2 separate regions of the Homo sapiens genome follow, and region 1 is linked to region 2. The links are contacts of gene promoters, found by promoter capture Hi-C in blood cells and fetal thymus (Javierre and others, 2016). All regions are on one chromosome and are shown on one strand. The core of a region is centred on a gene start or on the middle of the fragment in contact, and the rest is flanking DNA. Distances in the headings are between cores, read along the strand shown. Region 1 overlaps LOC107987043 (a long non-coding RNA gene). Region 2 holds the start of KCNV2 (potassium voltage-gated channel modifier subfamily V member 2).

What was found. Contacts are between HindIII fragments. The CHiCAGO score rates a contact against its expected background, and 5 or more counts as called.
Region 1: a contact is called between a fragment that was not itself captured here and the fragment with the promoter of KCNV2 in region 2, in 1 of 17 cell types (M2 macrophages). The highest score is 5.0, in M2 macrophages.

Annotation. Positions count from the first base shown.
Region 1 is chr9:2,193,725-2,198,030 of GRCh38, reverse strand. The region is part of intron 2 of LOC107987043 (a long non-coding RNA gene); the gene reads left to right. Among named protein-coding and RNA genes, the nearest start is that of SMARCA2, 180 kb to the right of the region's middle. The HindIII fragment of the contact is 1,029 bases long and covers 2,252-3,280 here.
Region 2 is chr9:2,714,537-2,718,759 of GRCh38, reverse strand. It overlaps KCNV2 (potassium voltage-gated channel modifier subfamily V member 2), which reads right to left and starts at 1,250. Exons shown (of 2, transcript NM_133497.4): 1 at 1-1,250. The coding sequence starts at 1,020. The HindIII fragment of the contact is 3,823 bases long and covers 1-3,159 here.

The sequences.
Region 1 (4,306 bases), core at 1,517-4,016, 520 kb after region 2:
GTGGATACATGTCCATTTTATAATCCTAGAAGAGGAATTTAATTAAAATTTTTACAAGAGAATTAAGAAATACATGTATTTGCTTGAGGGACTATGAGTCTGTTCACTTTGAGGTTTATAATCCCACAGTGAGCCTTGCTTCATAACTGCGTTTGGGTTCACAAAGAGGCCTCGTTCTTGTGTATAGCAAAATTAGTGTTTAGAAACGGAAAACTTGCTTCCCTGTAGTTGCCAGACTTAGTTGCCTTGTATTATTCAACTTAGCCCTTACGGAAAGTGACGCAGAACACAAACACCTTCTTGCATAAAGCGGCTCAGGCATTTGGAACACGTCACTTTCCTTCTATGAAGCTCAATGTCCTAAACAACACCAGGGATGAATACAGTTCACCTGGACCAAGGTTTAGCGATTCTAGCCCTATCAGTCATTATTCCTGACCCTATGCTCTATCATTTTTCATTACTCCTCCCCAGGCAAAACAGATTCACACACTATATGACAGTATATACAAATAAGAACAGAAATTGTACTTTATCTAGTTTGATGCAGGCTCTTAGTAAATTTTAAGAAAAGGATTAGATGTGCCCATTTCTTCAAGAATAAGATTGACTCCTAAAATTCTTGTGGGAAAAACATTTATTCATAAAGGGAGAGTATGTCTCTACCTTTCTGCTAAGTAAACCAAAGATATTTCCCCCAAGTATTACACCACATCACTCTCAATGAAGGTTAAGTCAAGCACAAATGAAGATTGCTGCCTTGTAATGTACGAGACAGAAAAGCCGTTTCAGAGAGAGAAAAAAAAAATATTCAGCTTTTCCTATTATTCCCATTGATGGTGACTTTCTTTTTAGAAGAATGACAATTGCGTGCTGGGTGTATATGCCTGTACCGATGATCTAAATCAAGACCAGTATGGCCTCATATTGTTCCTCAGGAATGAAATAATAGAGATTATTAAAAGCCTAATAGACTAGTGGTTCTCAAACTTGAGTATATATCAGAATCATCTGGAGCGTATGTTCTATTAGGGGGCCCCACCCTCAGAGTTTCTGATTCAGCAGGTCTGGGATGAGGCATGAGAATGTGCATTTCCAATGTTTCCAAGTCATGCTGATGCTGCTAGTTTGGGGACCACACTCTGAGAAACACTGGTTTCAAAACTGTCAATGATTGAAGGGCCCTTAAAAGCCATCTCCAGTCTATTTCTTGACTTTGAGAATCTTTCTGGATGTTTTAATGACATTTAATTTACAAGCAATTTTTTCTAACATACTGCAAACCTTTGACAACACGACAGTATGTCTCAACTACACAGCTTGCAATTACAGGACGACTCACTTATTCTTCACGTTTTATAGAGGAAATCAAAACTCAAATAAGGCTGTGGCAAAATCCAGAATAACCCACACATTTGACTCCCAATTAAGGGCCATGATCCTAATTTCTCATCTGAATAATTACACTTAAAGATAAATAAGCAGCCTTAGAGGGAAAAAGGTCTTTTAAAACCTTTATATTCCTGCTACAGTACATCTGGTTCCAGTATATTCTGGCTATATAATATCTCTAATGGGAAATTGAGAGGTTCATATTTAAAACACCCCATTTTAAGGGTCTGACCTATGAAAATAGTCTGAGAATCATGTTTCTGGTGGCATAACTCAGGCAGATCCAGCTGTGATGTGTGCCAACTCGGGTCCACGTAGCAGACTGACACTAGAGTAAGAGGCCAGGCTTGGATAGGGGGGCAGTCAGGCGTCTGTTCCTTCAGGTGGCACTGGTGGTGGCTCTAGACTCTCCACATGGGAAGTGCTTAGGAATTCCAGTCTGGTTGGATATGGAACTGGAGGACTTGAAGATATAATTGCACGCTAAGCCTACTCTGTCCAGCACCTATGGAGATGATGGGGTGTAAAAACCTCTTTCTCAGAAAACACGTGGTCTTATCAATGTGTGGGGCAAACATGAACTTGGTCACTACGTATACATATGGCATTATATCTGATGGGTGGATGATGGCAGTAGTGATATCTAAGTCAGTAGCCTTTAGGAACCATCAGTAGCTGGGACCTAAGGACCCCATTCTGGCCCTTGCAGAGGACTGTGAAGGAAGAGCCAGAGTAGCAGGGCCCAGCCAAGAAAACTGGGTCTCAGTGGAAAGGCTCACGGGAACTAGAAACCTGAGCCAGGACTTCTCTGTAAGCCCAATTGTGTCAGCAAGTGCCAGGTAAATGGGTGCCTGAAGCTTATCAACAAGATCAGTTCCAGGCCTCACTCACTGAGGGGAGGTGGGGAAGCTCCAAGGAATATGGGGTCTGGAATCAAACAAATCTAACTTCCAACTTTTGGTGCACAGCTCTTTGCTCTTCAATCTCTTCTTTGCATTATCTTTATTTGTCAAATGGGAACAAGAACTATGCCTTCCTCACGTTCTTGTAATTGAATAAAATAACGCAATCAGTACATAGCCTGATACTCTTAGATTCCTTCCTCTGTTCCTAAAACACCTTTGACCTTGGAAAGAACTACGCTGATGGGCTCAGCAACTAGAGCTGAACAAGAAGGCTGCCACAACGTGGTAAACAGGTCCGCATAGGCACATGCTCGGGATGGCCCGCCCCATCCTTAGCCCTCGCGATGGCCCGTCTTCTTGTTAGTGCATGCTCACTCTGCTGCCACCTCAATTATCACCTGGACTGTTTACCACCAGTCCCACCCGAAGGAGAAGAGACTCCTGTTCTCAATGATCATCCCTGGCTCTCATTTCCATTATAGCCAAAGAGAATAACACATTCTCCTTGAAGGATTAGAGAACATTCTTCACACAATAGAAATCCTGAACGATGGAGACAGTGGTTTTGAGGGCGTTAGAAACAGCAATGCTTCTGAAGCCAAGGAGAGATTGCAAAGAGCACAAAAAATACAGAAAATACAGAAATAGAAGCAAGCAAAGATGATTGTTTTCTTTGAACTGATACCAAATCATCTCAGTAAGAGAAACTAATATGGGTATACTGTTTCATGGAGGTCTCCAATCCTATTGCAGTTAGCAAATCCGAGAAACCAACCGAGAAGGGAAACTTCTCCTGAACTCTCAGACTACTGGAAATTAACAAACGAGTTGACATTTAGAGAGACAAAGAAGTTTCTCAGGACTGTATTCTGTGTGGATCAAATTTCCTTCAGGATTCACAGCAGTATGCGGCATTGGCAAATCCTCACATGTAAAAGCAAGGATCCTGGAGTTCTCCTTAGATCATTCTAAAAAAGGAAGCTTTCACCAACCCAGCAGTGTTGAAGGAAAACTCTCCCATTTTGATCCTATCATCATCACATCACCAGTTCCTTAAGAAAGAATCGGCCGGGCACGGTGGCTCACGCCTGTAATCCCAGCACTTTGGGAGGCCGAGACAGGCAGATCACGAGGTCAGGAGATCGAGACCATCCTGGCTAACAGTGAAACCTTGTATCTACTAAAAATACAATAAATTAGCCGGGCATGGTGGCGGGCACCTGTAGTCCCAGCTACTTGGGAGGTTGAGGCAGGAGAGTGGCGTGAAACGGGTGGGGGGGAGGTGGGCAGAGCTTGCAGTGAGCTGAGATCGCGCCACTGCACTCCAGCCTGGGCAATAGTGTGAGACTCCGTCTCAAAAAAAAAAAAAAAATTGCCCATCTTTGTGCTATTTTTTTGAGAACTTTAAAAAAGATATTGAGACAAATGTTACAATCAAACACAAAAAGTGTGAGCCTTGAAAAGATCCTGGCTAAAACTAAACAAATACAAGATGATGTTAGGACAGTTGGGAAAATGTGACTATGGCTTGTTTCTTAGATATCAGGGAACTATTGTTAGTTAATTCCTTTTGGTATGATATAGGACTGTGGTTGGCTACAAGATACGCTTATTCTTAGATTTGTGCTGAAATACTAGGTGCGAAGTATCGTAATGACTGACGGCACCTTATTTTCCAATGGTTTGGTAAAATAAAACGGGGTGGGGATGAACTATTAATCATTGTTGAATCTCAGGTGGAGGGTATATAGGTGTTCATTGAACCAGTCTTTCGATGGAATATTTTTGAAATCTTTCAAAATCAAAAGGCATAAATAGCAATAGAGAGAGATTTTCCAACTAAGAAACAGAATTTAAGGCTGAGCAGGGACTTCATATGGCTTGGCCCATGGCAGCATCTCTTCTGCTGTTTGTTTAATAAAGTCATGGGTGCAACAGGCTCCCCTGGTGGACATAGCTGGACCACTTCAAGGAGACTGGCTCTCTCGACCTCTCCCTTTTTTTCCCTA
Region 2 (4,223 bases), core at 1-2,500:
CAGGTCCACCAGGTTGAGGGCGCTGCGCGCGAAGCGCCTCAGGTCGGGCGTGGAGGCTAGGCGCAGCAGGTACTCGAGCGTGAAGAAGCCCATGCACAGCATCTCCACGTGCTCCAGGATGGGCCGCAGGTCTGGGCCGCCCTCGCCCTGCCCCGAGTGCTGCTGCATCTCCTCCACGGTGTTGAGCGCCAGCGCCACCACGGAGACGAGCACGAAGGTGCTGGAGGCCACCCCGATGGCCTTGGCGGCCACCGAGGAGAATGGCTTCTCCATGAGGTTCCAGAGGCGGCGCCGCTGCGGGCCGTAGAAGCGCATGTCGCGGAAGAGTTCCTCCGCCTCCTCGACCTGCGCCTGCGCGCGCAGCTCGTGCTGGATCTTGAGCCGTTCGCTCAGCTCGTCGCGCCGCTCCTCGAAGCAGATGCGGCAGCAGCGTGGCGTGTACTTGAGCCGCACGCCCCAGTAGCCCAGCTCCTCCAGGAAGCGGCGCGGACACAGCCCGTCGAGCACCAGCAGCACCCCGGACAGGTAGAAATTGTAGACCAGCTGGAAGACGGCCGGGTCGCGGTCGAAGAAGTATTCGTCTGTCTGCTCCTCGTAGTCGTCGCACAGGCTTAGCTGGCGGCTGCGGCTGGTGGAGGTGGCCAGGCGACCTAGGCGCGTCTTGGGGAAGCCGGCCAGCTCGCAGTAGTCCAGCTGGTAGCTGTGGCCACCCACGTTCACATTCAGCGTGGACAGCAGGGCCGGAGGGTCGCTGGGGCCCTCGGGCTTGGCGGTGGTGACCTCCCCTGCCTGCTGGTCCTCTTCTGCCAGGTCGTCCTTCCACTGGTCCTCCTCCTCGCCGTCTTCGTCTTCCTCGATGTAGTAGTTATAGTTGCCCTCTGTCCAGCCGTGGATGCTGGCCTGGGAGCCGGAACGGGCACCCAGGGAGCAAATGCTCCTGCGGTGTTGGCTGCCCTCATTCTCCGTCGTGTTCCAGGGCCTGTAGCTCCAGGACCGTCTCCTCTCACTCTGTTTGAGCATGGCTGCGGAAAGTGGACGCCTAGCTTTTTCCTCCTGGCTGTGGTAGGGGTCCCTCACCTGCTCACTGCCTCTAGGAGGATGGATCACGTGGCCTGCACTGTCTTAGAGAGGCCAGCCCGGACCAGCACAGCTAGGGGCTCAGACATTGCCACCGGAGCTGCCCCTTCTCAGGTCCTGGGCAGGCCAGCCCAGCCTGCAGGGTCTGAACGCAGTCAGCTGTTGACTGCTCTAATCTTGCTGATTTGGAAGAAGCAAGTGTTAGGAGGGATTTAGAACCTCTTAGCCCATTTCCTCCCCCACTCCCTTGACCCTGTGAGGTAGAGGATGATTATGTGGTCTTAAATCTCTAGGTAATCAGAAGAAGGCAGAGATTATTGCTAATAAAAATGTCGGTCAACCTCGCTCTTAGGAAGCGCTCAGTGTATGTGTGCTGAGATGAAATCAACTGAATTAGCTATAGAATACGGATGCCTGTGTCTTCAGCTTCATGGTTGAGATGGTAGCCTCTGCCCTAGGTAAACTCACCATTAGCAGGGATGACACATAGCAACGGAACAAAGCTGACTTCATGACAAGTCAGTTTCCCTCTCAGCGTAACTCTTCGTTTAGAGCATATAAGATCTAAAGCCATCTCCTTCTTGTCCATTCACATGATCACATTTTTTTTTTTTTTTCAAATGGATTCTCCCTGGGGCACTGTTCAGGTCCAGTCGGATCTTTGAGTCAGCTTCAGCTTCTCTCTCTCCTTTTTATCTCCTCCCTTTCTCTTAAAGGATAGAGACATGTTTCAAGGTAGAATTCCAGGAATGGTAGGAAGACGTTTTTAGGGCCTCACAACCCTGCTCAGCAATATTAGGCCATATTTAAAGGGAGCCTGACTTCCACCCAAAAAAAAAGGGTCTTCTTCATCCTTCAAAACATCACTTTAAAAAAAAAAAAAAAACCCTTTTCATGATTAAGGCAATGTGCAAATGCTGGATATGCAAACACGATGGAGACACAGTTGTAGCAGTCAAAGAACTCTTGGTTTTGTTGGGGATATAAACATGCAAGGATAACAAAAGATGCAATAAATACTGGGGAGGAGAGAAGCAGGAGGGATTTGCTTTGAGCAGGGAATTGGTTTTTCTATTCAATTTATTTTGCATAGCTAATACACATTCATGATAAAAAATTGTAAAGGTAAAAAGACATATTACAGTAGAAAGTTTATGTCTTTCCCACCCATAATTTCAAGACATCAGGTGTACCTCAAGGAAGCAACCACTATTACTACCTTTTGGCTATCCTTCCAGAAATATTCTAAACATATACAAGCAAAAATATACCTACCTTTATCCATCATCTCAGTACCTCTTCATTATTAATAGAAATCATAGAATGCTATATACTTTGCCTTTTCCAGTTGGCCATATAAAAGATGTTTTCATATTTGAACACAAATATCTACCTTATTTTAAAAATAGCCACTGAGCACTTTCCTAATGACAGACATTCAGAATGTTTCTACCTTTGCTTTTATGGACAATTATGCAACAAATACCTTATATGTACATCACTTTACACATGTTCAAGATATATAAAGGATAAATTCTTAGAGGTGAGATTACTAGGTCAAAGATTGCACATTTGTAATTTTGATTAGTAGTGCTACATTTCTCTCCATAAAAGTTTTACCAATTTACAATTCATCAACGGTTGAAAATGTCTTATACTTTTTTAACTCTACCAATTTTGTAAGTGAAAAATGATGTGTGGGTTAATTTGTATTTCTTATAAATGTGATTGAACACTTTTTCATGTGATTAAAAGCTATTTCTTTTTCTGGGAACTGTCTGTTCATCGACTTTGCCTATATTTTCCACTGAGTTGTTTACATTTTTCTTATTGATTTGTAGGAGAGCTTAATACATTATGAAAAAAGACCCTTTACTTGTGATATGGATTGCACCTTTTTTCGGTTTTAACTTTAATATTTTTTCCATGTAAAAATCTTTATTTTATGATTTCTGGGTGTTGTGTAGTATTAGAAAAGGCTTCACCTCTCTGTAAATAAAACTTTTCTTTTTATAGTTTTAACATCAGAAATTAATTTTGATGTAAAGAGTGAAGTAGGGGCCTAACTTTATTTTCCAAGCTTTTATCCAGATGTTTCAACACATTAATTGCATAATCCATCATTTCCTCACTGATTTGTGGTACTATCTTTGTCACTTAGTTGAGTTTTAACTATGCTTCAAAGTTGTTGAGACGGGTAACGTTATGAGGTCTGCATCTGCTAGTGTGGCATTCACTGATGTTGTTTAGCTTGCAATAGGCCTCAGACCTACAAGCTTATGGTAAAGCTTCTTACCAGGCTTAGCCTTTAAGTTCCTAAATGTATTTCTAGCGTTCCCTTTTTGGTATACAATATTGATGTTGTTTTGCTAGCCACACACTTAATTGCTTTCCAAGTCTATCTTTTCTTTATATTGTGCTGAGTACTGCCATAATAGATTTTGCATGTTGCATAAATTCACCTTTTCTCTTCAGAACCAATTATACTATTATAAAAAGTAAAGACTGGGTGTGGTGGCTCACGCCTGTAATCCTAGCACTTTGGGAGGCCGAGGTAGGTGGATCACTCGAGGTAAGGAGTTTGAGACCAGCCTGGCCAACTTGGTGAAACCCCATCTCTACTAAAAATACAAAAATTAGCCGGGCTGGGCATGTTGGCGGGTGCCTGTAATCCCAGTTACTCAGGAGGCTGACACACAAGAATTGTTTGAACCCGGGAGACAGAAGTTGCAGTGAGCTGAGATCATGCTGCTATACTCCAGCCTGGGTGACAGAGTGAGACTTGGTCTCGACAAAAAAAAAAAAAGTAAAAATATCACCATTTTCATATTTTTATCTTCTTCTTTTTCAATTGAAATAATATACTACTTTTTTTTTTTTTTTTTGAGACAGAGTCTCACTGTGTTGCCCAGGCTGGAGTGCAGTGGCGTGATCTCGGCTCACTGCAATCTCCGCCTCCTGGGTTCAAGCAATTCTTCTGCTTCAGCCTCCTGACTAGCTGGGATTACAGGCGCCCGCCAGCATGCCTGGCTAATTTTTGTAATTTTAGTAGAGATGGGGTTTTGTCATGTTGGCCAGGCTGGTCCCGAACTCCTGATCTCAGGTGATCCACCCACCTTGGTCTCCCAAAATGCTGGGATTACAGG